Regions from separate parts of the Homo sapiens genome. Here all the other regions are linked to region 1. The links are contacts of gene promoters, found by promoter capture Hi-C in blood cells and fetal thymus (Javierre and others, 2016). All regions are on one chromosome and are shown on one strand. The core of a region is centred on a gene start or on the middle of the fragment in contact, and the rest is flanking DNA. Distances in the headings are between cores, read along the strand shown.

What was found. The method cuts DNA at HindIII sites, captures the fragments that hold promoters and counts their contacts. A CHiCAGO score of 5 or more calls a contact.
Region 2: the fragment with the promoter of AGBL5-AS1 here is called in contact with the fragment with the promoter of GTF3C2 in region 1 in 16 of 17 cell types (total B cells, naive CD8 T cells, total CD4 T cells and 13 more); the score reaches 30.9 in total B cells.
Region 3: the fragment with the promoter of DPYSL5 here is called in contact with the fragment with the promoter of GTF3C2 in region 1 in 5 of 17 cell types (naive B cells, total B cells, naive CD8 T cells and 2 more); the score reaches 9.5 in naive B cells.
Region 4: the fragment with the promoter of MAPRE3-AS1 here is called in contact with the fragment with the promoter of GTF3C2 in region 1 in 10 of 17 cell types (erythroblasts, naive B cells, total CD4 T cells and 7 more); the score reaches 9.3 in erythroblasts.

The regions. Positions count from the first base shown.
Region 1 is chr2:27,352,868-27,360,104 of GRCh38, forward strand. GTF3C2 (general transcription factor IIIC subunit 2) reads right to left here and starts at 3,897. Exons shown (of 19, transcript NM_001035521.3): 1 at 3,872-3,897. GTF3C2-AS2 (GTF3C2 antisense RNA 2) reads left to right here and starts at 3,898. Exons shown (of 4, transcript NR_183827.1): 1 at 3,898-3,989; 2 at 4,941-5,035; 3 at 6,018-6,593. RefSeq lists enhancers at 3,291-3,904, 3,418-3,697, 3,748-4,087, 3,905-4,518, 4,098-4,227 and 1 more. The HindIII fragment of the contact is 6,500 bases long and covers 1,509-7,237 here.
Region 2 is chr2:27,047,328-27,054,165 of GRCh38, forward strand. AGBL5-AS1 (AGBL5 antisense RNA 1) reads right to left here and starts at 2,937. Exons shown (of 2, transcript NR_046730.1): 1 at 2,853-2,937; 2 at 2,356-2,677. TRY-GTA2-1 (tRNA-Tyr (anticodon GTA) 2-1) reads left to right here and starts at 3,455; the gene lies at 3,455-3,543. TRA-AGC8-1 (tRNA-Ala (anticodon AGC) 8-1) reads left to right here and starts at 3,887; the gene lies at 3,887-3,959. AGBL5 (AGBL carboxypeptidase 5) reads left to right here and starts at 4,341. Exons shown (of 15, transcript NM_021831.6): 1 at 4,341-4,466; 2 at 5,586-5,846; 3 at 6,075-6,246; 4 at 6,569-6,732. The coding sequence starts at 5,632. RefSeq lists silencers at 2,722-2,931, 3,634-3,928, 4,332-4,771, 4,792-4,841 and enhancers at 3,092-3,381, 3,552-3,781, 4,096-4,595. The HindIII fragment of the contact is 15,630 bases long and covers 1-6,838 here.
Region 3 is chr2:26,846,154-26,852,895 of GRCh38, forward strand. It overlaps DPYSL5 (dihydropyrimidinase like 5), which reads left to right and starts at 1,979. Exons shown (of 13, transcript NM_020134.4): 1 at 1,979-2,101. The HindIII fragment of the contact is 4,603 bases long and covers 1-4,178 here.
Region 4 is chr2:27,009,795-27,016,311 of GRCh38, forward strand. It overlaps MAPRE3-AS1 (MAPRE3 antisense RNA 1), which reads right to left and starts at 4,794. Exons shown (of 6, transcript NR_149018.1): 1 at 4,707-4,794. The region is part of intron 1 of MAPRE3 (microtubule associated protein RP/EB family member 3); the gene reads left to right. The HindIII fragment of the contact is 5,889 bases long and covers 2,993-6,517 here.

The DNA.
Region 1 (7,237 bases), core at 2,647-5,146:
TTGAAACATTCACTTTTCTTGAGAAGCAATTCAACGAGCAGTAAAATTCCACAGTTTTACAAAATTCCCTCAATTTTTTACAGTTGTCTCATTCACACCTATTTGGCAGCTTTTTTGTTTGCAAACTCACCTCTTTTGTCTTTCTAAAGCATTCAATTTAGTTTTAGTTTGCTTCCTTTACTTTTTTAGAATTGTTTTCACAAAACTTTTACTTCATATAAAATACTATAAAGATAGCAACAAAAGGCCGGGCGCTGTGGCTCATGCCTGTAATCTCAGCACTTTGGGAGACTGAGGTGAGCAGATCATGAGGTCAGGAGATCGAGACCATCCTGGCCAACATGGTGAAACCTCGTTTCTACTAAAAATACAAAAATTAGCTGGGTGTGGCGGCACACCCCTGTAATCCCAGCTACTCAGGAGGCTGAGGCAGGAGAATTGCTTGCAGGAGGTTGCAGTGAGCCAAGATTGCACCACTGCACTCCAGCCTGGCGACAGAGCTAGACTCCGTCTCAAAAAAAAAAAAAAAAGGAGCAAACAACCATCTATGGTTCAACTTAGTTTTTTAGTTTTTTGTTTTTGTTTTTTTGAGACAGAGTCACGCTCTGTCTCCCAGGCTGGAGCGCAGGGGCATGCTCTCTGCTCACCGCTGCCTCCGCCTCTGGGGTTCAAGTGATTCTTCTGCCTCAGCCTCCTGAGTAGCTGGGATTACAGGCATGTGCCACCATGCCCAGCTAAGTTTTGTACTTTTAGTAGAGATGGGATTTCACCATGTTGGCCAGGCTGGTCTCAAACTCCCAACCTCAGGTGATCCACCCACCTCGGCCTCCCAATCAACTTAGTTTTAATAGAAACAATAACTCTTTCATATTAAAATTTATTTCCCCTGTCACCCAGGCTGGAATGCAGTAGTGCGATGATCATGGCTCACTGCACCTTGACCTCCTGGGCCCAAGTGCTCCTCCCCATCTCAGCCTCTCAGGTCACTGGGACCACATGCACACACCAGCAGGCCTAGCTAATTTTTATTTTTTTTGTAGAGACAGGGTCTCAACTATCTTACTCAGACTGGTCTCAAATTCCTGGGCTCAAGTGATCCTCTAGCTTCAACTTCCAAAGTGCTAGGATTACAGGTTTGAGTCACCACACCCAGCCTATAACGTATGTATAAAGACAAAGCAAAACATTAAAAAAAAAAAAAAAAAGGGTGGGAGCCTGGACAACATAACAAAATCCTGTCTCAACAACAACAACAAAAATGTTTAATTAGCTGGGTGTGGTGGCAAATACCTGTAGCTCTAGCTATTCGAGAGGCTGAGGCAGGAGGATCGCCTGAGCCCAGGAGTTCAAGGTTACAGTGAGCTGTGATCATGCCACTCGACTCCAGCCTGGGTGACAGAGCAAGATCTTGTCTCAAAAAAAGTGGGAACCAATACAATGACTCTTGGCAAGCATTCAACTCAACTAGTGGAAGCAGACTGACCACGTCTACAGGAGAAAAACCTTCAAGCTTCAAGCATTTAGAGAGGAAATAAGAGTATGTCAGTTAACATAAGGAGCTAAATGGAAATCAGTTAAGAGAGCTTCTATACAAGTCTTAAGGATTTTCTAGGCCAAGTGCTGTGACTCACGCCTGTAATCCCAGCACTTTGGGAGGCCAAGGCAGATGGATCACTTGAGGTCAGGAGACTAGCCTGGCCAACATGGTGAAACCCCATCTCTACTAAAAATATAAAAATTAGCCCGGCGTGGTGGCAGGCGCCTGTAATCCCATCTACTCGGGAGGCTGAGACAGGAGAATCACTTGAACCCAAGAGGCAGAGGGAGAGGTTGCAGTGAGCCGATATCACGCCACTGCACTCCAGCCTGAGTGACAGAGGAAGATTCCGGTTTTTTTTAAAGGATTTTCTACATCAGTATACATATATTTATCTCATTCTTCCTAATTGCTGCATGGCATTCCATAGAATTAGTTATTTAGACAATCTTCATTTAATGAACAAATGAGTTAAAATACTATTTCAAAAAATACTGCAATAAATATTCTAGTACAAATCTCTTCATTAATTCATCAATAAATTATTTTTCTCGAATAATCATCTGAACATGGAATTACTGTACTACACTGAAGAACATGCACATTTCAAAATTTGATACTACCAAACGGCTCACCAAAATTAAAACTATTTATGTATATTAGTACCCATTTTATCATACCGTTACTGATCTTTTTAATTTTCGCCAATCTGATAGGTGAAAGAATTCTTCCCCACTCTATTTATTTGCACTGATAATAATTGGTGTCAGCAACTTCTTTCTATATATTGGACATCCATATGACTTTTATGAATTGCCTGTACATATAATTTGCCTGGCCGGGCACGGTGGCTCACGCCTGTAATCCCAGCACTTTAGGAGGCCGAGGTGGGCGGATAACGAGGTCACAAGTTCGAGACCAGCCTGACCAACATGGTAAAACCCCGTCTCTACTAAAAATACAAAAGTAGCCGGGCATGGTGGCACGCGCCTGTAATTCCAGCTACTCAGGAGGCTGAGGCAGGAGAATCGCTTGAACCCGGGAGGCGGAGGTTGCAGTGAGCCGAGATCACGCCACTGCACTCCAGCCTGGGCAACAAGAACAAAACTCCGTATCAAAAAAAAAAAAAATACACTTCTCATGGAAGGCAGCAGCAGGATGTAATGGTACAAATTCTGGATACACAGTAAAGGAATAGATGATCAGTAAATTCGTACTGAGTTTCTAAAACCTTCCATTGCACCCCAATCTGTCTGGTTCCCATGCTGCTCCAGGATGCCAGCTTGACCTCCCCAGCCAAGAAAAAATAATGACACAACACTGCACCTTAAGTATGAAATTACTTTGAATACACTGCTTAGCTTAATATATTGTTTCCTAAAGTGTTCCTAGGGTACAACTGGCGGTATGCAAGATGATTTTAATGGTACGAAAACGAACATTTTAATGACTAGTGCTTTTATTTCAACTTACATAAACAATTATAAGTAGCCCATGAAACCCACGGTTTCATTTATATTGCTTAGGTCGAGACTAATGCATTTAAACTTTTTAAGTAAGTCAATTTAAAGAGAACTATTCAGAAAACAATAGTACAATTGATAAGAGATTGCAAAAATAGTGATGGCACGGGATTGACTTAAAATTGTATATGCCTCTGGAACAAAGAGGTTTGTCCATACCCTATACATCCCTCCAACAAAGTGAGTTGCCTCCGACGGAGTTGAAGTCGCCACCTCTGACTTCCCCAACAGGCAGCCAACTTGCCACGGGACAAAAGGACTAGACAGGGAAACACAACTGGCCCTTGGTTACGCCAATGGCGTTGCAGCGCGCGGGGCACAACCCTCGGGGTTAAAGAGCCTCCTCGAGGAAGAGGCTGGGACACAGCTGAAAGAGATTGACCCACAACCACTCTAGGGGCCATCACCTGCCCTTCTTCAGTCCTGGGCGTGAAGGTAGATTTCTCCCCTAGCCTGTGCGGGAGAGGAGCCCTGGTTTTTCTAACAAGGACTACTGTAGGTTCGCCGAGTTCGAGGGACGCTACGTATGCAGCGCCTACGCCCGGACACAGGCTTCCGCGTTACCGACACCGCGTGGGGGAGGAGGGCAAGACCCGAGGCTTGCAGAGATGGGGGGTGCACGGTGGCCACAGTAGGGAAGGTGCGGAGCATGATGGTGCTCTGTAGGAGCGCAGACGCTGAAAGGCGCGCTGCTGTGGCTGGGAGAAGAGCGGAGCCAGGAGTTTGTTCCCAATATCTTAGTGCTATGGCAAAAGAAGGGGGAGGAGTAATTGTGGGGCCCCCCACACACCCGCTGCGGCGATACACTCACCCTCGCCAAAGTCCTTCCGGAAGTCTAAGTTCGAAGATGGCGCCGCCTGTCTGGTCGCGGTCTTATGACGAAATCTTGTTAGCTGCTCTTCACTGACGCCCCCACCCCAGTGCACAAGGTAAACACGTGTGCTTGGTCCGGAGTCGGTGCCGGGCTAGTTTTCTCTTAGACTCTGTATTCCATAATGCAGCGCGGCCAGAGTCACCGAGCCCTCCGAAGCCAGCCGAGTTCCAGGGCGTCTTCAGCGGCGCCAGGGACGCTGCAGGGCCTCATGGGAGTTGCAGTGTCAAAAAGGGGAGATCGACGCCTGCGCGGCCAACGGGATCCCACGCGGCCTCGACGGGAGCCGGGAGTAGGCGGACTCCCAGGCCGGGCTCGCGCTCTGGATCCCTGAATCCGGCCTTTCCGGCCGGACTGCCGCGCCTGTGGCCGGAAGAGCCAGCTAGACCAGAGAGTCTGTACCTGCAACCCTGGCGGCGTCCGAGCCCAAGGCGGAGTCTGGGAGACAAAGAAGTCCTCGCCGCCGGCCGCTGGAGGATTCTGCCAGTAGTGAAGTCAGGGATGGGCCCGAGAGAGCTTGGAAAGAGGACAAGGAAGGGAAGGAGTAGGAGTAGAAAAGCATGACTTTGGCTGGGTATGGTAGCTCCTGTCTGTAATCCCAGCACTTTGGGAGGCCAAGGCGGGGGAGGATCACTTGAGCCCAGGAATTCGATACCAGCCTGGGCAACATAGTGAGACCCCGTTTTTATTTTTATTTTTATTTTTTCCTGAGATGGAGTCTTGCTCTGTCCCCAGGCTGGAGTGCAGTGGCGCGATCTCGGCTCACTGCAAACTCCGCCTCCCGGGTTCAAGCAATTGTCCTGCCTCAGCCTCCCGAGTAGCTGAGATTACAGGCGCCCGCCACCAAGCCCGGATAATTTTTGTCTTTTTAGTAGAGAAGGGGTTTCACTATGTTGGCCAGGCTGGTCTCGAACTCCTGACCTTGTGATACGCCTGCCTCAGCCTCCCAAAGTGCTGGGATTACAGGCATGAGCCACCGCGCCCGGCCTAATTTTTTAATTTTTTCTAGAGATGGGGTCTCGTTATGTTGACCAGGCTGGTCTTGAACACCTGACCTGAAGTGATCCTCTTGCCTCAGCCTCCCATAGTGCTGCGATCACAGGTGTAAGTCACTGAGTTTGGCCATTATTCCATTTCTGTACACAAAAACCTTTCTCATTCTGTGCTATAACTAGTTAGCATTTAATTGGGTGGATGTGGTATAACTAGTGCCTTGTTGATATTGATGCATATTTACATGGTTTTGCTGTTATAAACAATGGTCCCTTGCTATTATAAATCACACTGCTATAAGTAACCTTGCATCTAAATTACTTCAAATGTGTAACTATATGGGTAGGATAATTTCTAGAAGTGGAATTGTGAACCAAAGTTTTAGGTGCATTTGTAATTTTGATTTATAACCAATCTTTTCACTGATCTACTTCTCTGCCTCTAATTTCTACTAGGTGTTTGTTTGTTTGTTTGTTTGTTTTGAGACAGGGTCTTGCTCTGTCACCCAGGCTGGAGGACAGTGGTGCAATCACGGCTCACTGCAGCCTCAACCTGCCACCTCAGCCTCCTGAATAGTTGGGGTGTGTGGCAGGTGTATACCACCACTTCCAGGTTTTTTTGTTGTTGTTGTTTAATAGAGATGAGGTCTTGCTATATTGCCCAGGCAGGTCTCACACTACTGAGCGCAAGCGATCCTCCTGCCTATGCCTCCCAAAGTGCTGGGATTACAGGTGTGAGTTGCCATGCCTGGCCCGGTTATCTTTCTAAAGCATAAAGCAACCCTGTTGATCCTCTGCTTAATTTTGATGATTAAGTAGTATGTTCAAAATATAGAAATCCATGTATTGATAATGATCTTTTAAAAAAAGTAAAAGCCAAAATATCAGCTACTCATCCTACACCATTGAAAGTAGTGACCATTAAACTGCTCTACCTCTACCTCCACCTCTCTACCTCTCTACCTCTCTACCTCTACCTCTACCCACGGTCTCCCTCTCTTTCCATGGTCTCCCTCTCATGTGGAGCCGAAGCTGGACTGTACTGCTGCCATCTCGGCTCACTGCAACCTCCCTGCCTGATTCTCCTGCCTCAGCCTGCCGAGTGCCTGCGATTGCAGGCACGCGCTGCCACGCCTGACTGGTTTTGGTGGAGACGGGGTTTCGCTGTGTTGGCCGGGCCGGTCTCCAGCCCCTAACCGCGAGTGATCCGCCAGCCTCGGCCTCCCGAGGTGCCGGGATTGCAGACGGAGTCTCGTTCACTCAGTGCTCAATGGTGCCCAGGCTGGAGTGCAGTGGCGTGATCTCGGCTCGCTACAACCTACACCTCCCAGCCGCCTGCCTTGGCCTCCCAAAGTGCCGAGATTGCAGCCTCTGCCCAGCCGCCACCCCGTCTGGGAAGTGAGGAGTGTCTCTGCCTGGCCGCCCATCGTCTGGGATGTGAGGAGCCCCTCTGCCTGGCTGCCCAGTCTGGAAAGTGAGGAGCGTCTCCGCCCGGCCGCCATCCCATCTAGGAAGTGAGGAGTGCCTCTTCCCAGCCGCCATCACATCTAGGAAGTGAGGAGCGTCTCTGCCCGGCCGCCCATCGTCTGAGATGTGGGGAGCGCCTCTGCCCCGCCGCCCCATCTGGGATGTGAGGAGCGCCTCTGCCCGGCCGCGACCCCGTCTGGGAGGTGAGGAGCGTCTCTGCCCGGCCGCCCCGTCTGAGAAGTGAGGAGCCACCCCATCTGGGAAGTGAGGAGCATCTCCGCCCGGCAGCCACCCCGTCCGGGAGGGAGGTGGGGGGTCAGCCCCCCGCCCGGCCAGCCGCCCCGTCCGGGAGGGAGGTGGGGGGGTCAGCCCCCTGCCCGGCCAGCCGCCCCGTCCGGGAGGTGAGGGGCGCCTCTGCCCGGCCGCCCCTACTGGGAAGTGAGGAGCCCCTCTGCCCGGCCACCACCCCGTCTGGGAGGTGTGCCCAACAGCTCATTGAGAACGGGCCAGGATGACAATGGCGGCTTTGTGGAATAGAAAGGCGGGAAAGGTGGGGAAAAGATTGAGAAATCGGATGGTTGCCGTGTCTCTGTAGAAAGAAGTAGACATGGGAGACTTTTCATTTTGTTCTGCACTAAGAAAAATTCTTCTGCCTTGGGATCCTGTTGATCTGTGACCTTACCCCCAACCCTGTGCTCTCTGAAACATGTGCTGTGTCCACTCAGGGTTAAATGGATTAAGGGCGGTGCAAGATGTGCTTTGTTAAACAGATGCTTGAAGGCAGCATGCTCGTTAAGAGTCATCACCAATCCCTAATCTCAAGTAATCAGGGACACAAACACTGCGG
Region 2 (6,838 bases), core at 1,687-4,186, 310 kb before region 1:
CTTGAGCTTAAGCCATCTTCCCACCTCAGCCACCCAAAGTGCTGGGATTACAGGCATGTACCACCACGCCCAGAAGTTACATTTTTAATTTTCTTTCAGACTGTTCATTATTGGTGTAAAGAAGCTCAATTTGTTTTTTTGCATGTTGATCTTGTTCTCTGCAACTTTGCTGAATTTTCTCTAATAGTTTTTTTTTCTTCTAATAGTTTTTTGGTAGATTCTTTGGTATTTTCTATATATAAGACAATATAGTCTGCAAATAGGGATAGTTTTATTTCTTCTTTTCTAGGTTGGATGCTTTTTATTTCTTTTTCTTGTTTAGTTGTTCTGGCCAGAAATTCTAGTACAATGTTGAGTAGCAACAGTGAAAGTAGGCATCTTTGTCTTGTTCCTGACCTTAGTGGTTGTTCCTGACCTTCACCGTTGAGTTTTATGTTAGCTGTGGGTTTTTCATAAATGTTCTTTATCATGCTGAGGAAGTTCGTTTCTATTTCTAGTTTTCTGAGTTTCTACTTTTCATGAAAGGGTGATGAATTCTGTCACCCTTTCCTGTATCAATTGAGATAATGTAGTTTTTTTCCTTCATTTTATTAATGTGGTATATTACATTGATTTATTTTTCTTTTTTTCTTTTTTTGAGATGGAGTCTTCCTCTGTCTCCCAAGCTGGAGTGCAGTGGCCGGCTCACTGCAGCCCCTGCCTCCTGGGTTCAAGTGATTCTCCTGCCTCAGCCTCCCGAGTAGCTGGGATTACAGGCGTGCACCACCATGCCCAGCTAATTTTTGTATTTTTAGTAGAGATGAGGTTTCACTGTGTTGGCCAGGCTGGTCTCAAACTCCTGGCCTCAGGTGATCCGCCCACCTGGGCCTCCCAAAGTGCTGGGATTACAGGCGTAAGCCACCAGGCCCGGCCTACATTTATTTATTTTTCTTATGTTGAACACCCTTACATTCCTTCAATAAGTCTAACTTGGTCATGGTTTTCTCCTTTTAATATGCTATTGGATTCAGTTTGCTCGTATTTTGTTGAGGATTTTTGCATCAATATTCATAAGGGATGTTGATCTGTAGTCTTCTTGTGGTCTTTTGGTCTGGCTGTGCCATCAGAATGATGCTGGCCTCATATAATCAATTAAAAAGTGTTCCCTTCTTTTCTATTCTTTCGAACAGTTTGAAAGGATTGGTGTTACCTTCATTTAGTGATCTGAGAGAAAAAAAAGGACTGGTGTTAATTCTTTAAATGTTTGGTAGCATTCACATGGAAGTCTTCTGATCCTGGACTTCTTTCTGTTGAGAGGTTTTTGTTTGTTTGTTCGTTTGTTGAGACGGAGTCTCGCTCTGTCGCCCACGGTGGAGTGCAGTGGCACGATCTCGGCTCACTGCAACCTCCGCCTCCTGGGTTCAAGGGATTCTCCTGCCTCAGCCTCCCAAGTAGCTAGGATTACAGGCATGCGCCACCACGTCCGGCTAATTTTTTATTTTTAGTAGAGAAGGGGTTTCCATGTTGTCCAGGCTGGTGTCGAACTCCTGAACTCAGGTGATTCACCCGCCTCGGCTTCCCGAAATGCTGGGATTACAGGCGTGAGCCACCGCGTGTGGCCTTTTCTTTGAGACAGAGTCTCTCTCTGTCTCCCAGGCTGTTGTGCAGTGGCGCACTCTAGGCTCACTGCAATCCGCCTCCCAAGTTCAAGCGATTCTCCTGCCTCAGGCTCCCGAGTTGCTGGGGATTACCGGAGTGGTAGGAGCTCACTACCACTCCCGGCTGCTTTTTTTTTTTTTTTTTTTTTTGAGACGGAGTTTCGCTCTTGTTGCCTAGGCTGGAGTGGCGCGATCTCGGTTTACTGCAACCTCCGCCTCTCGAGTTCAAGCGATTCTCCCACCTCAGCCTCCGGAGTAGCTGGGATTACAGGCGCGCGCCACCATCCTCTGCTAATTATTTTTGTATGTTAGTAGAGACAGGTTTCACCATGTTGGCCAGGCTGGTCTGCAACTCTTGAACTCCGGGGATCCGCCCACCTCGGCCTTCCAAAGTGCTGGGATTACAGGTGTGAGCCACCACGCCTGGCCATGAATGTGATTTTTTGATATTGAATAATAAAAGCTATGCAGATCTTCTATATTCTTCTATCTAAATGTTGACACAACTTTATATCTAGAAACTTCGGATTTAAAGCTCAGCCCGAGAGAACCCATCAAATGTTGGAGCTGCAAGGGGCTAGAAAGCATCACCAGACCTGGATTCGCGGGCGATGTTGGCTCAAGGTAGCACAGGACGTTGGCCCAGAGCTGGAAATTGAGGCCAGGTCTTCCGGCACACCCACCCCACAGGACGACCAAGCAGGGCTTCACAGAGGAGTTGGGGGTTAGGTTTATTTCTGTTGTTAAAAACCCGGTGAACAAAAGGTTGTGGAAAAAACACATGCAAAAGACAGGCGAAGGTGTGAGCTGGATAGGGACAAAGATGGGGGAACCCGTGGGGTCACTCCTTGACCCCACCCGGGACACCTAGACATCCACAGTGTCGGGGGAGGGGCCCCAGACCAGGCAGAAGACCCTTCCCCGGCCCTGGGGAACCCAAGATTTCCGAGAGTAAGCGGACCTGTGCAAAGACCCACAAGGGAGGCCAGTGGCCTGTGCTGGGCACTGTACAGCCGCCCCGACCCCGACCTCACGTGGGCCTCGGAGGCTGCAGGGACCTACCCGGCCGCGCGCCGCCCACCATCCCAGGTCTACCGCAGGGGAATCCCCCAGGCTTGCGAGCGCTTCCGAGGGCAGGAAAGCCTGTACTGCAGCCCCGCCGCCCTCTCCTGGCGCGTAGCCCTCTCCCCGAGCCCTCGGGCCACGCCGCCAGGCCCGCGATCCCAGGGCGGCCCGGGGGGTTCGGCACAGCCCGATAATGCGCCGCGCCGAAGCCTGCAGCACCCCGCGGTCGCCGTCTCTCTTGCACTGGTCAGGACGAATAGAGCCTGACAAAACCTGAGTTAATTGGCCGAGCGAATGTCGTTCGCGTCAGGAGAGCACGTCCGGAGAAGCCAAGGGAAATGTGGAGCAGGAGCAGCCAAAGTGGCCCATCGGCTCTCGAGCAGGGTTTGCGCGTCGCGGTCGCAAAGCCCCTGTGAGTGCAGGTACCGCGGCACAAGCGCTGCCCCGGAGCTCCAGGAGGCGGCGGCGGGCTCGGCGTTCGCGGTCCAGGAGAAACCACCGCGGGGTGTTGGGAACATTTTGTTAAAAAGCCGGGAAGCTCAGGGCCGGTGTGGCCTCCGTTCTGGCCTGAGAACCCGGACTTTGGGCAGCTTCTTTTCCTTGCCTTTGGGTCTCCGGCTTTCTCAGCTCTGTGAGGTCCCATGGGTCTCCTGCCCTGGCAGGTTCCTTCAGCTGGAGAAAGCGGGGGTCATGGCTGGATGAGGTTGCGGTAAGCATTAGAGGGCTATCAGCAGCATCTTATCGCAGCGGAGCCTTCGATAGCTCAGTTGGTAGAGCGGAGGACTGTAGTGGATAGGGCGTGGCAATCCTTAGGTCGCTGGTTCGATTCCGGCTCGAAGGACTTCGTCTGTAATTTTTAACCTCAATTTAATTCAATTATCCCATAAGGGGAAAGGCTTGGAGGCCTCCTGTGACTTAGCATTCGTACTGCCGTCAGTCCATAGGGAACACCGTAGTATGTAGTATACGGTAACGCTCTTTCTGCGTTCAATGTACATGTGGTAACGTGTTTTAGAATGTTTTCTGCTTAAGCACACGATTATATGCTTGATTTTTAGAATCTTGCACATGGATGCCACTGTATTGTACTCTGCTAAATAAATGTCCTGAACTGTGGTTGATCCACTGGTCAGTGAACAGTGCAGTGAACCTGTAAGGCAAAGGGAAAGAACTAAGCAGCAGGCGGGGGATTAGCTCAAATGGTAGAGCGCTCGCTTAGCATGCGAGAGGTAGCGGGATCGATGCCCGCATCCTCCACTCAGCTTTTGCGTCCGTCACACTACAGAACACAAAACGGGAGGGATTCCCGGCGCAGTGGGCTACGTGTTTCATTTTAGAGACACAAGACTGTTAAGCGATAAGGAGTTTCACACGATGTCTTTTTATTTCGCAGTTGAGTCCCAGTTTCTGCCGCTTTATCTTTCCCGCCTCCCGGCAGGCAGGCCGTTAACCGTCTTCCGGAAGACGCTGCTAGAACCCTCCGGCCGCTCCTGCCCGCCATCGTCCCCGAACGACACTCGCTCAGGTACCCACTAACGTGCGAGGAACCCTGAGAGCTGACCAATGGTAGCGAGCTTTACTGGGCGGGTCGCCAGCTGCAGCCACGGCCAATAGGCGAGAGACTTCTTGTTTCCTGGCAGAGCGGGGTCCCGGCACCGCGGCGCTCGGGTGTTTTTGGGGGCCCGGGTGGAGGGCCCGGGTGCCGGGGCCCAAGGTGCGGCCTCGCTAGCGGGAGAGGGAGCGGGATCACCGGCCCGGAGAGAGGTGAGGGGCTCTGCGCGGACTACGGGCCCCGCCAGCCCCGGCCCCGCCAGCCCCGGCCCCGCCCCCTTCTCTCAGCCCCTTGAGCCCGAGCCCCTCGAAGGCCACCCCGCACCCCGCTCCCGACCTGGCTTACGCGGTCCCGACCCCGCCCAGCTCCGTGGCCTCACCTCTGACTCCTAGGCCCTCCCTGCCTAATCCCCTGCCGCGGGAGCCCGTCTCGACCCCTTCCATGCCTCCCAGTCCCACCCTGCCCAGGGCAAGCCCGCTCGGTGTGACGGTTCCCCGCGAGTCGAGGGTGGAGAAGCCAGCCTCCTTCCCCCGAGTGGGACTCTAGCAGCCCACCTCTTTTAGGGGTGCTGAGAACACCCATTACTCATCCACAGCTACTAGGGTAGCTTTCTCAGGGTGCAGTGCTTACGGGGCGGAGGGGGATGGAAACAGACCCATGCCCTGGCTGGAAGGGAGCTCCAGTCGCTAGGTGAGCCCAGTAGCCTTTGGCTTGGCAGAGGCACCACTGTTATAGTTTTTCTCCATACTAGGCATAAGGTAGGAACAAAAAAGGAAGAACCAGCCCTTCCAGGGCTCAGGGGAGCAACACCAGAATGTCCGCTCAGTACTTGTGAGGACAGAGGCTGGAGAGAGGACTACCCATTTACACTCAGAACCTCGATTCCTCTCTCTGCTCTGTGCTGGAGAGTGCAGAGCCAGAGATCCAGAACGGCCCATCTCTAAAGGTGGCCATGTATGGTGGTGAGTGTATCTTGGCTAGGTTTGGAAAATCTGACCTCTCTGATTATATTCTCTAATCTTTGGGCTGCAAAGCAGCTGAGAGTTTAGTGTTTTTCAACATAGTTAAGCCACTGAGTTTTATTTGGGAACAGCCAAGCTAAAGTAAAATGGGGTCCCTTTAGGTCATTTACAACCCTTAGTGTTGGGGTACAGAATGCTGCTTTCTCTTGGCCTTTGCTGGAAGACCACTTCTATGTTTTCTAAGAGGGAGACAGCCTTTTGTTTCATAGGGCACTCCCTAAGAATAGCTCTTATTTATCAAGAGATACCCAGAAAACTCTTCGATTTGTCTTCCCTTTCCTCCTTAACCTAACCCTTGTTTTCCCCCAGCTCTCAGGGCCAGAGCGGGGCAGGAGGATGCTTTCCCAGCCCCACCATGGAGCTGCGCTGTGGGGGATTGCTGTTCAGTTCTCGCTTTGATTCAGGGAATCTAGCCCACGTGGAGAAGGTGGAATCTTTGTCCAGTGATGGGGAAGGGGTAGGAGGTGGGGCGTCAGCCCTGACCAGTGGCATTGCCTCTTCCCCTGACTATGAATTCAACGTGTGGACCCGACCAGACTGTGCTGAAACGGAATTTGAGAATGGGAACAGGTATATGGAACGAAATGGAGGGTGGAAAAAGGCTCCAAACCCATGCTTCAGTTAGCCCTCTGACTTATCTGTTCATACCCAGCATACTCCCTGTCCATTTCTGACCCATCGTCCCTCCTTTCTCCTTGCCAAATAGCCCTTTCCCAGTTTGGCTGGCTCCGGCTCTCCCACAGACCATATCTCCAACCCTTCCACACGTAATGACCTCTCTCTTACTCTGGTCCTCAGGTCATGGTTCTACTTCAGCGTCCGGGGAGGAATGCCAGGAAAACTCATCAAGATCAACATTATGAACATGAACAAGCAGAGCAAGCTGTATTCCCAGGGCATGGCCCCCTTTGTGCGCACACTGCCCACCCGGCCACGCTGGGAACGCATTCGAGACCGGCCCACCTTTGAGGTAAGTTCTCCATGAGGAGGAAAGAAAGACTTGGGTGCTAAAAGTAGAGAGGAAAGTAAAGCGTTTTTTTTTCCTTGATACAAGTATGAAGCAGGTGGGACAACAGGTTTAAGTATCAGCTTTTTCTCCAGTGTTAGCTAGAGTCCAAGATGAGCCCCTGCCTCAGGAAGCCTAGAAGGAGCCACTTTTCATATAGAAAGTGTCACAGGGAGGGAAGTTGGTAAAGGTGATAAGGGTGTGAGGTCAGTTCCTGGTGGTCCCAGTAGGAGCTCAGTTCTGACAATGGCATGTTGCCCCTCCCTCTTCCTCCTCTGCTCTTCAGATGACAGAGACGCAGTTTGTGTTATCCTTTGTTCATCGTTTCGTGGAGGGCCGTGGGGCCACCACCTTCTTCGCCTTCTGCTACCCCTTCTCCTACAGTGACTGCCAGGAACTGCTAAACCAGCTAGACCAGCGCTTTCCGGAGAACCACCCTACCCATAGCAGGTGCCAGCCCCATTCTTACTCCTGCCACACAGTCCTGGATCAGACAGCACCTCCACTACTTCTGGAATTTGCTCTTAGAGCTCTGAACCATACTTTCATCCGTCTT
Region 3 (6,742 bases), core at 729-3,228, 510 kb before region 1:
AGTAAGTCACTTTCTCAAGGTCAAGTCGGCAGAAACTGAAGGAGCAAGGATTCCAACCCAGCAATGCGGGACTCCCAGCTCTGTGCTCTTTCTACTTCCCAGGAAACGGAGCCTAAGTTAGCAACAACAAACCGAAGTCGAGGACTGAGGACATATGCAACCCCCGGTTTGGGTGCAACCTTTATCAATATCCTAAACTGACAGATGACGTAGAGGCAGCCGTTTCGCTGACTAGGGAAGGTAGCCCAAGAAAGCTAAGATGCTAGAATCCAAATTTAAGGTCTACGAGACGCTGCAGAAAACATTTACAGTCACTAGAGGGCTCTCTCTCCCTTAAGCAAAAAGCGCAGCACCGCCCGCGCGCGGTAGTCTCGGAACCCCGCCGCCGGGAGGCCGCTGGCAGCTCCACGCCACCTCCCTGAAGCCCAGTCCATTTTGCCTACATCCCTGTCCGGGCAAGCCCTGGAGAATCCATAGGGCAGTGCCCCAAGCTGGAGCAGTTTTCACAGCCACATCCCGGGCTGCACTGGGTTAGGGATGCTTTGAGGTTCCTCTGGGGGCTCCCTGCTCTCTGCTTACCAAGCAGGCGGGAGTTGGGAAGGGGAGAAGGAGTGCAGACTCAGGGGTGGGGTAATCCAGAAATGCATCCCTCAAAGGCCAGCCTGGCCTGGTCCAGGCCCTAAGCTCTCTGGGGAAGGACGGCAGGGAACCCCGCCTTGGCGGGCTCTGCGGGTCCTGCGCCCGGGTAGATTTTGCTGAGATGGGGAGAGGGGACCCCCTCCACGCCCCCGGAGTAGTGAACACCATTTTGTTTGAAAGTATCCTGCAAAGAGAACCACCTCACGAGGCCATGGCTGCCAGGGGACTCCTCTCCCCACCGGATCGCCGGGGAGCCCGGGGAGGGAGGGATTCTGCAGCTGCAGCTTGGAGGTCCTTGATGCTGCATTTTAACGCGCATCGCAACGCCTTTGGAGTGACATTAAGTGCAAAGAGGCAAATGACTAATCCAAACTATTATTACAACTGCAGAAAATAACACAGATCAATGGCAAAGGCTTGAACCGGGATTAGCTAGGGAGGTGGGACAAACCGGGGATGATCCTTCCTCTCCTTTTTTAGATTTGTTTATTTTGGTAAATTATGTATGTATTTAAACATGAAGAAACAGGTGAAGCGAATGTAAATTGGGTTATAAATAATTTCCAAAGGCTTCGCTGTCCCTTGACAGAAGCCAGAAATAAGACAGGCACTGGGCCTGAGCGCTCTGGACAGGGAAGCACCCGCGTGGCGCTGGGCAAAATCTTCTCAGTGGAGAGAACGCACTCCGGGTTCGAGACCTCCCCGGGTGCAGATGCGAACTGCGGTGGCCCCAAGTGGCCGTCCACTTTGTTCATGAGAACAGTTTTCCTATAACGCCCACCCGGCCCTTTGCATCCCGCAATCCCGCGGGCGTCGGAGCGGGTCTTGGCGCGAACCAGGCGGCCTCGGCGGGGTCCTGCGGCGGAGGGCAGCGCGGCCGCAGCCCGGGAGAGGCGGCCGCGGCATTGTTTCAGCCCCTGGGGTGGGATCCAGCTGGGGGAGGGGAGGCGGGGTGTCCTCCGGAACCGCCCCCGGCCCTCCCTGGGGACCCGTGCCTCAGCGCGTCCAGGCTTTGTGGTGTCCTGAGTCGCCATGGAAACCCGAGGGAACGCGGAGCCGGGTGCTAGGGGGGTCGGTGAGTTCTCCGGCCGCGCCCTCCGTCCGCTCTCGGACCCCGGCCCTGCAGCAGGGCCTGCCGGGAGTTGTAGTCCCCAGGCGGCGGCGGCGCGCGGCGCCAAGGATGCGGGACGCCGCCTGTCCCCGCCTCCCCTTAACCTGCTAGCTGAGGTGGGGAGCGGCGGGAGGAGCCGGCCGCGCGGTGATTGGCGGAGGCCGCTCCCAGCCCCCGACACGCGCCCCTCCCCCGCTCCCCACTCTGGACTCCCGCGCTGGGCGCGCTGAGGCGGCCCCCGAGCGAGCGCGCGTGCAGCCGCCGCCGCCCCGAGCACCCGCAGCTCCGGCGCCGCGGCGAGACGGAGACGGACCGAGCCACGGGCCCCCGCGGCCGCAGCATCTCGGAGGAGTGGGTGATGGCAGGGGGGTCGGTGGGCTTACCCCTCCCGGGCTAGGACATCCTCCTCTCCCCCTTCTGTTTCTGCGTGAGGCGCACAAAAGGGCGGGGAGCCGGGTGAGCCTGGGGCCCGGCCGCAGGGGACGCGGCGGGAGGTGTGGTTTGGGGTTGGGAGGTGGCCATCGGGGCTAAGCCGGGGCGCTCTTGGGGTCCTCTTTGTACGCCCGCGAAGCGCCGTGCCGGGCCTTGCTCATAGTAAGCGTTTAATGCGTGCTCGCGGGGTTGCAAAGCCCTGGGGTGAGGAGGCGGCTCGGCCGAGGGGTTTCGCGCCTAGCACGCAGTGGGCCGCTTTCCTAGCCGGGCGCGGTGCAGTGGACCGCTGGAGGGCTGGGCGGGGGCGCCTCTGGCCGGGGGCCAGTCCTGCCGGTCCCAGGATCTGCGCTGTCCCCGGTCCCACACACCACCCAGATACACACCCTCCGTCCTTCTCGCCTCCGAGCTGGGATCTGCCCAGCCTGGACCCGACCCGGCGGTCTGTTCCACCGCCCGGCTAACGGAGCGGACGCCTGCAGAGGACTCGCCCGCCGCCTCCGAGCCTCCCGCCTGAGCCACAAAGGCCTCCTGCGGCTGCCCAGCCCGGAGCGGGCGCCGAGCCGGGTCCCTCGGCTGGAGCCCAGCGCGGGAGCCCGCCTTGCAGCATCGATCTCAGCGGGCACCGACGTCGACGCCCCGGGCCTGGGGACGGGGCTGTAGTCTGAGCTGGAGAGAAGCCGGGAGAGGGCGAGGGGAGGCCTCGGTTGAGAAAAGATGGGGATGGGGAAGGCTGGGGAGCTGGGTTAGGACAGGTAGTGGGTCTCGGGGAGCAGGGAGTGGGAACTAGGGTTTGAGGAGGAAAGAGAAGGGGCGGGGGCGGGTCCGAAGAACGAGGGAAGGAGCTCGGTGCAGGTGGCGCCCGGCGAGGCTGGTTCTGCTGAAGAATGGGGAGGGGAGGAGGGATGCAGGCGGGTGGAGGCCGCCTGGGTTTGAGGAGGGAGGACGGGAGCGAGGAGAAGACCCGCGCTGTGCGGGGGAGGGGGGCCTCCTGGGAAGGGGAGCCTCCCGAGGAGGGAGGGGCAAGCAGCTGAGAGGCGGTCTCGGGCCCGAGGATCCTCAGCTCCAGGCGCGGGGCCCCGCGGCCCAGGTGGCCGGCTGGGCGTGGCCCTCGGACCGGGGTTAGGGACCCAGGATGGCAGATCCGGGACCGGGCTGGGCTGGCTTGGTGAGGAGCTTTGTCTCCAGGCTTGAAACCAGCCGGTAGCGACTCGCTTAGGGTTTTGTGATCTTCCGCGGCGCCCACGGCACGCCCTTTTCTCGAGGAGCTGAAAGGCTTTGCCCAGCAGCAGGTGCTGCCAGGGAGGCGGATCTCCCTTCGGGGAGACCCGGAGAACAATAGCCGACCCTGGTGTCCATCCGACGACAAACCAGGGCCACCCAGGACGCGAGGGTGCAGTTTTCTGGTGCTGGGAATACTCCCTGCGGAACCTCCGGGCACGTGCTGGCTTTGGGGTTTTATGGGGGCCTGGCCACGCCGGGAATCCCGTGTGGGAGGCGCTCCCCCGGCCTGGGGGCCTGCAGACAGCCACCCCCCCACTCCGGCTCGGGTGCCTTCTGGTGCAGCGCCGCCGCCCGCCCCGCGCTGTCCACCCGCTGCCGAGACGCGGCGTGGTTAGCGGCGCGGAGCTGCCGGGCGGCGACGCAGGTGCCAAAGACTGGAGGTCGCCTCGGTGCAGCGCGGGTTCCCCCGAGCAGCGGCTTTGTCTGCCGAGGCGGCCGTAGTCTAGGGGCTGCAGCTGTGCTTTCTCAGGGGGAGCCGTAAGGGCTGGTGCGGATTGTGGTCAAATTGCGGAGAAGCGGGTGGAAATGATCCCGCAAGGGTGAGGCTCTAGGTTTGGGAGCCGCTGCTAGGGGTCCAGTGCTTTTCTTTGCCAGTGACCACACCCAAGCCAGTGCGTCTCTTGCAGACTTCGCCCATATTGTCTGCTGACCTAAGACTGGGGTAGCTCTGTGATAGGCGCTGCTTGCCCGTGGGAAAGCAGATGAACCGAATGGAAGCTTAAAACAGGCTTTCAGCAGGGCTTTCCACGCACTCAGCCTCTCGCCCGCCGTCTAAACACCTTGCAAGTCACCGCTGCAGCGCCTTGACATGTGAAGTGACACCCAAAGCCAGAATTCTGTGTTGCACTGTTGCTTTGATAACTGGTTAGATGACAAGTTAAAGGTGAATCTTTAGCATAAAGTTATCATTTTAAATTGCCATTCATTAAAAAAAAAGGCAGGAATGTTTTTGTTCCCAGACTGGGCGATACTTGGCATTGTAGAACTCATTGATGCCACTTACATTTGCCACTAAGTTAACTGAGAACCTGTTGGTTCTCTTAACCCAGCCTTGAAATCTCAGGATTTGCTTTCTTAACAAGATTAGTGTGTAAGGTGAAGGACTGTGCTGTGGCTGTTGGCTTTTGCCCAGGACAGATGATAGCTGTCAAAGTGAAGGCCTCTTGTCTGAGTGTCCTTTCTGGCCATAGGGAGTCAGCAGTAGGCTATGTCTTGCTGGTTTTAAAGGATGGTGTTTTGAGGAGGTGCCTCACAGAATTTACAAAACTGATCTGGAAGGACTAGCTGGAACATTGCTCATTGGTTGTTTTTAACTATATTTTAACTGAATTATATATATGTATATATTAATATGTATATACACACATATATATATACACATACTATATTTTACTAAATTATATATGCATGTGTGTATTTATGCATACACACAAACATGGATTCAGAGTACATAAATACTAGGAATCTCAATATTAGAAACCTAGAAATCTGACAGTGAAGGTTTTTTCTTGTAAGAGAGCTCCAATGGGAAACATGTTTTCATATTATTACCCAAAGGGAACAATTTCAGGAAGGAGTGTTTTGTTGGCTTCTTTTTTGTAATAATTTTATGGATTTTTAAAAGGATGTAATCTTCTTAAAGCACTCTGTGAACATCCATTGCAGTCTGTTCCTCATGGCAGGGAATCCATAGACAAGGAATGCCGGTATGACCAGCCTGACGTGAAGGCCTGGCTGTTGTCAGCGTAACCTCTCTAGGTGCAAACATTAGCAGGGTTGTTGCATTATTCTTAATGCTTCTATCTCTGGAAAGAGTTCCACAGCAAGGCAAGTTTACACAGTTGGCCAAAATCAGGTCTCAGGACTTGGCGTAAACTTCATTTGTGGCACTTCCACGTCTCTTCTCCTGCCATAGCTATCTGAGAATTTCCCCTTAATAGCTTCTCTGACCCAGGATTCTGTATGATCCTGCATTAGCTCCACGGGACTATAAGCCAAAGGACAGCATGACTATAGGCAGGTCTCTGGGGTAAAAGTAAATTGTGGCCAGGCACAGTGGATCACGCCTGTAATCCCAACACTTTGGGAGGCTGAGACAGGAGGATCACTTGAGGTCAGGAGTTCGAGACCAGCCTGGCCAACATGGTGAAACTCCATCTCTACTAAAAATACAAAAAAATTAGCCTGACGTGGTGGCGCACACCTGTAGTCCCAGCTACTTGGGAGGAGGCTGAGGTGGAGAATCACTTGAACCTGGGAGGCCGAGGTTGCAGTGAGCTGAGATCGTGCCACTGCACTCCAGCCTGGGCAACAGAGTGAGACTCTATCTCAAAAAAAAAAATGTGAATTGTGTGTTCAGATCATTTTCTTGGGGCATAGAAAAATATTGAGAGCCAGAGAAGTTGGACAAGAGTATCTGAGACCCAGTCTATCTTCCTGGTGTGAAAATTTACCAGTTTCTGATAGAATCTGATCTTGTGTATCTTTTTTGTTTTCTGAGGTATAAAAACATATTCCAGAAAAGTCTTCTAAGACTTAATTCACAGGAATCCTGTAGAACAAGATATCTTTGTCAACATGAAGTCCTGTAGGGAAAACTTGGTGTAATATGGGAGCAAATAAGAATAAATGTGTTTTATCATTTTTCCAATAAGCAGGTGTTTGATTTCATTGCACTGCTGGTGCATAAATGAGAAATAATTTCAAAATCGCTTTGCCTTGCTTTTTTTTATGTGAAGATGAAAGGTTGAAATACCATAACATGAATCTTTTGTGAGCTTTGGTATTTATGTATAAAAGTGGGCACAAATTATACACTTGAACAAAAGAAATTCAGGGAGGAACATGGTGTATGATTTGTTCTACTTCAGTCTTTGAAACTTGTTTCATTTAAAATAAGCTGATTTAACCATTGATTGAACCCGAGCTTGCCAAGCACTCCCATCAATCACAGCCCTGTTCTGTACTTGTTCCCTCGCCTCCCTCCTCCCTCGTCACAATCCAGGCTCAGCGGTAGCGTGTACAGGAGGGAGAGCCAGAAAGCCTGGGTTCAGATTTCACCTTGGCCACTTTCTGTTTATCTGTGCAATGAGGATGGTTGTATTAGGTTGGTGCAGAAGTAATTGCTGTTTTTGCCATTACTTTTAATGACAAAAACTGCCGTGACTTCTGCACCAACTTAACAGTATCTACATCTGGGGTTGTTCTGAGGCTTACATGTGTTAATGGTTAGCACTGAGAGCAGCATCTGGCATCTTGTAAGTGCTCAGTAAAAGTTAT
Region 4 (6,517 bases), core at 3,544-6,043, 340 kb before region 1:
TTCAAGACCCAGTTCAAACCATGTTTCCTTTACAAAGCTTTCCCTGATGCAGGAAGCAGAGTTGCTCCAGCAGCTCCTGTATCTGGAGTTGGAGCATGATGTGTTGCCCTTTGGTTATTTCGTTCAGTTGTCCAGCTCTCACCTAAGTTCATTAATTTCTCGAGGGCCCAGAGTGGGTTCATTTCTTCCTATAGGTCCTGTGCTGGCACAGGGGCTGGCACACAGCATTGGGTGCTGAAGCACACACTCCACAAATGGTGATGAGTGACTGATTGAATCTGAGGCTCTGCAATGTCCTTAGAAAGCAATTTTGTCTATTCTTCCTGCCTTAATACAGTAATTTTCCACAAAACCAAACATTAAAAAGGGCTCTGATTAACCACAGTTAAACAAAGTTAATCAATATGTACAACATTATTTTCCAAACATTCAACTTAGTTAAGACTTTATTATATAAACACATTTCTTATCTTGCTTTTCATTTGTGATACAGTGTTGTGAGTAGCTGGAGAAAGATCGTGAGTCGCACTCATGGGTCTTCTTGGACAGATAAAATCTAGAACTTGAGGGTAGGATATGGAGTCTGAAGGGGGATGGGTGAGATGTTGAGATAAGGAGCACAAGCCTACTTTTAATCTGTATTTCTTTTTTTTTTTTTTTTTTTGAGATGGAGTTTCACTCTTTGTTGCCCAGGCTGGGGTGCAGTGGTGTGATATTGGCTCACTGCAACCTCCACCTCCCGGGTTCAAGCCATTATCCTATCTCAGCCTCCCAAGAAGCTGAGATTACAGGTGCGTGTCACCATACCCAGCTAATTTTTGTATTTTTAGTAGGGGTGGGGTTTTGCCATGTTGGCCAGGCTGGTCTCGAACTCCTGACCTCAGGTGATCCACCTGTCTCGGCCTCCCAAAGTGCTGGGATTACAGGCATGAGCCACAGCACCCGGGCCCAATCTATATTTCATTTCAAATTTTAACTGAAAGAACCAAAATGCTCTCCACCCTGCAGGCAGTCACTCACTATCTACCTGAAGTGCTGCAGCAGACACACATGGCTGTGATGACAAATGCCTGATGTCCCTCTCCAGCTTCCTCCTGGGCAAGTGATCAAGGACTCCACAATCATCTGCAGGTCTAGCTGCTGTCCCCATACTCCAACAAAATGACTCAGAGTTTCATCATTTCTTATTGCACAATTTAATGACCATATCGCCACCTCTGGTCTGGTAGCTTCATTAAACAGGGCAGATGACCTCCTCTTTGAAAGTGGGCCCTCCCTTGGCTCCTAAGACATCACCTTCTCTCCACCTCCTCTATTTTCATCGCGTCCCTAACATTCCTCCAGGACTGAGTCATTGGTCTTATGCTCTTTTTTTAAAATAAAAGTAATAATAAATATGTTTCCCATGTCCAGAATTTCCCATTTTCTCCTCGCTGCTTTCTGGCATCCTGTCATCTTTAAAGGCCCAATTAGGTGCCACCTTCCTCCAGAAACCCTCTAACTGCTGATCCCCCTCTCATCTTTTTCATGTGCCTGGAACACTTAAAAGCCAAAGGTGCTTTCACTATTTAGCACTTCATATATTCTGCTTTGTGGCGTCCCTTGTTATTTTATAAATTACTCTTACCTCTTCAACCAAAGAAAAGCTCCTTAATAAAGACAAGACCCATGCCTTGAAATGATCCCATGTCCTCATGATGCCTCACTGGGTGTTGAGCATTTTGTCAGTGGTCAGTAAGCACTTGCTGGTCGAGATTAAGGCAATGCTAGGCCGGACCTGGTGGCTCATGCCTGTAATCCTAGCACTTTGGGAGGCTGAGGCAGGTGGATCACTTGAGGTCAGGAGTTCAAGACCAGCCTGGCCAATACGGTGAAACCTCATCTCTACTAAAAATACAAAAATTAGCTGGGTGTGGTGGCACACACCTGTAATCCCAGCTATTCGGGAGGCTGAGGCAGGAGGATTGCTTGAACCAGGGAGGTATAGGTTGCAGTGAGCTGAGATCATGCCATTGTACTCCAGCCTGGGCAACAAAGCGAGACTCCATCTCAAAAAAAAAAAAAAAAAAAGAAAGAGAGAGGTTAAGGCAATGCTGCAATGTCTTGAAAAAATAAGTATAAAGAAGAAAACTGGGCCAGGCATGGTGGCTCATGCCTGTAATCCCAACACTTTGGGAGGCCGAGGCAGGCAGATCACAAGGTAAAAAGTTTGAGACCAGCCTGGCCAATATGGTGGCCCCATCTCTACTAAGAATACAAAAATTAGCCAAGCATGGTGATGGACGCCTGTAATCCCAGCTACTCGGGAGGCTGAGGCAGGAGAATTGCTTGAACCTGGGAGGTGGAGGTTGCAGTGAGCCGAGATCATGCCACTGCACTCCAGCCTGGGTGACAGAGCAAGACTCCATCTCAAAAAAAAAAAAAAGAAGAAGAAGAAGAAATCCTCTGAAATTCCCTTTCCCTCCTCCTAATTCTCAAGGGGTGAAATCTGGGCAAGTCATCCTGCTCTAGAGCTGTGAAAAATCAAATCGTCCTTCCTGCACCAGTGTGGTGGTGTGGAAAGAGCATGGGATTTGTGTTCATTTGGCCAGGTTCAGCTCTGATCTTGCCAGTGGTTGATCTTGAACTTGGAAAAGTCACTGGAATCCTCATCCTTCATTTCCTCAAAAGCAAAATTGAGGTAACAACTCAAAGGCTTTCTGGAGCTGGATGCTGTAATCCACAAGAGTGGCATTTCTGGTGGGAATTTCGGGCACTATGGTAGGGCAGGAGAGAAGCTATCTGCAGGCCTTCTGGAAGCTCTCCAGTGCATGTCCCCACTGGGGTGGGGGCTGACTGTCTCCACGTGGGGTTAGTCCTGCAGAACAGGCAGGTAGAGTAGAGTCTGAGGGCATGAGGAAAGGCAGTCTACTGGAGAGGGCACAGAGAGTTCAACAAACACTGAAACTTAAGTTTGTCCTGGACATCTTCAGCATCCGACTTTCTGGTGGAAAGCTTAAAGTATAAATGACTGTGCCCTCTCAAAAGGGCACAGAAGTAAAACTGGGAGGATTTTGGGAGGGGACTGGATGTGGGGTGAAAGGTATGGTGAGAGCAGAGAAGAGGGGCCTGAGCCTGGGGTCAGGGGAAAGTAGGCTAAACAATTCACAGGATGCAGACATTTCAGAGAAGGGTGACACATCACTTGGCCCTGAACAACAACTATAAGCCAGACAGTCCAAAGAGACATAGTTCCAAAGGAACATAAAGTGACATGGCTTGTTATGTGTCCCCAGAGACATGGATGTGCTTTTGGAACTTGAAGGATAATTAAAAAAACATCAGACCCACCAGGGCTGCTGCAAACATGACAGTTCCCTTCCCAACACGTCATGGCAGCTGCTGCAGCTCCCTTCCCTCTATCCTGAGGCTAGCCACAGATGGGCCAGCAGCCCACCCCCAGAGCAGACCAAGCAGAGAGGTGCTCCCAGGAGTTACCAGGTTCCACTCTCGGAACCATCTTAAAATCCTGTTCTGGGAAATCCAGCAGCACCATGTTATATGCATTAGAGGGAGACTGTTTAAATCCCTTGCCAAGGTTCCCAAGGCTTCGTGCTGCATCTGTTTGCGTGTAGCCAGGGAGTGCAGCTAGCATTCTCCTCTCCTTGCTTCTCCATGTAGCCAGTGGCACCTCCTCAGGGTCAACAAACAAGAAATAAAAGCAGAAAACCACACTTTCTGAGTCCACCTGCCATCTGAACCCCCCAAACCCTAGTTTAACCTCTCCCATTCATTCATTCATTCATTCAATAAATATATAGGTACTGAGAAGCTATTGTGCACTGAGCCCTGAGCCAGTACTAATTGAGGGAAGAAATGGGCAACATAGCTTCAAAAGCACAGCTCTGTCTTTCTGCCTGAGGCAGCAGAGAGTGGATACCCAAGGCTGTCCCTACTCTCTCCCTGCTCAGGACCCTGATCAGAGGGTCTGTGGGAATTGGGTCAGGGTGCAGGAAAGAAGATGTTGAGTCAGATATGTCTATGTCAGTGATCTTGCCTATCAGTAAAGGTTGCTCAGCCCCCAAAGCAGCGTGATGGTGAACCTTTGGCTCCTGCCAGCGGTACTCATTATCCTTCCAACAGCCCCATGCTCAATCATACCATCATTCTGATGCTTCATGAGAACTGAGGCTTGGATATCTTCGCCTACTTGCTTGTGTCTCACAGGCAGCGAATGGCAAAGCCTGTAGCCAAGTCACACTGTCTGCCTTCTGCTGGGAGCCTTGGATTGATGGGTGACTCCATGGACATTTGTTGACCTAAAAAGTAGGTGTTTGAGGAACTGAAAGATCTCCAGCAAAGAACGTTTAGAAAGAAAATATTGCCTATCTGCCCACCTAGATGAACCCTACTGAAATGGATTGATTTTAGCGATGAGAAATTTTGTTTACTATACTGCAGGGTTTCCGTTAACCCTCGAAGTTATGGTCAGATAGGGTGACCTAGCCAGAACCTACCCCAAGGACTCCTTCCCTGGCTAGCAGCTACAGGGATGTGGCACCATTATCCCAACCAGCCTGGGGAGAGCCTTAGTAAGAGTTCAGATCATTATTCAGCAGGACATGTCCAGGATCCCAGTGGCTGGAACTTCAGCAGGGCTCAGGGTCTTAGAGTTGTGACCTAAAAGTGTTGTGAGAACAAAATCCTGGAGGAGTTTCAGTCCCTACCTGAACCCACAGCCGTCCAGATCCCTGTCCTGGATGTGTGGGAGGGGGCGCATGCTGGGCTCCAGGCCAACCCTGCAAATACTCCACTTGCCCCGTCTCTGCATTGATTAATCCAGCTTTGAGAGGCTGAGCCTCTCAATGAATCAGGTCCTTGCTCAGCCATAAGAAGAAGGTGATTGGCCAGGTCTGCCAGGGCTTTGTGACCCGCTGGCTTGCTCCCCAGCCCCTCAGAACCCCTCAGCCCCACCTGCACATACTGCCTCCATGCAAGCCCAGAATAACCTGGATGTGTGACTCACAGGGGTAGGGGTAGCAATTTTGCAGATTTTCCAAACAGGTGACTTCAGCCCCCGGGCCTGGGCAGGAAGGGGTAGCCCAGTGACAATGGGCATAGTCCCACTTCAGGAACGGGAAACGTGTTGGCTGGCTCTGTGGAGTTCTCTCTCTTCTGATCCCACAGCATCTGTTCCAGTTGTCTTGGCCGGTAGGATGGCGTCTACAAAGCAGGCTATATGGGAAATCTGGAGCTGGGGAGGGATTGTGGTCAGAGCCCAGCTTTGGGAAGCCCATGTGGCTGTCTCAAGGCAAAGCAGCAGAGAAAAGTTCTGTAGTCTGTCTCCTTTCTGGACTGGCATTTCCATGGTCTGAGACCAGAGGCTGGCTGTGTGTCAGGCACCTACTCCTCGAACAAATGCCCTTAGATTCTCACTGTCTGTCCCCGCGATGCTGACAGCACTTGCCAAATACATACTGAATGTCAGGCTCTGTGCTCAGCACTGTGTACACATGGCTCACTTAATCCTCATAACTGTTCTGTGAGGTGGGAGCTGTCACTGTCCTCACTTTATAGATGAGGACACTGAGACCTAAAGTCAAGTCAGACAGCTAGGACATGGTACAACTAGGATTTGAACCCACCTGATGTGCCTGGAGATCTAGTGTTCTTAAGCACTACCTTTCTGGAGCTTGCTGGAGGCATGCTGGCCACCTCCTTCAGGACTGGTAGACCTGGTGTGTCTTTCATAGCCACGCTGGGCAGAGGGTGGAGGCCTGGAAACTGCAGGGGGTTCTTCCAGGGACCAGCCAGAACAGGGCTAAACTTGGGGTAAAAAGAGCTCTAGAGAATTAGAGAAGACTGAGGGCCCCTAAATTACCCTTAAGACATATTTGTGGAAGACAGATTTAAAAACAAAAAGCCAAAATTAGATTTAGGCTGGTGATAAGGTCATTAAATAATAGAATGTGAAATTTCAGTTGTGCAGACTTATTGGCCATCTTTATGATTTAAGAATATAAGTGCCTAGATCTAAGTGCAGTCCTAATCGCCTGGGAAGGAAGCAGATGGTCTCTAGAAACCCTTCTGACCATGGGTTAGTGGGATTTGGTCTTGATGACCATTTTTAAGGCCTCAGTCTGCAGAATGACCAGCAGCTTCCCCTCCCGCAATGAGAGCTGTAATTGCCTTTCCCAGTTGCCTGTGAATGCACCATGAACCTTACAGTCCTAGTATAGGAAATGACTCAGCAAAATCACCAGATTAAACCTCCTCAACTTTTCTTTCCCTTGGCTCCATTCCTGATAGCAGGAGTCGAGGCCCTTCAGAGCAGGCTTTCCCCAAAGCCACGTTGTCGGTCTGATCCTCGAATGGGGATCCGCCTGGATGATGACATGCCACAATCCAATCAGGGTCTGTTTCTCCTGACAGTCACATGTGCCAAAGATCATGGTAGAAACATGTGGATGGGGTTGGAAGACACTGCTACTACATCTCTTGGGACAGAGCCTGCCCCCTCCGAGTGGCTACCTACCAT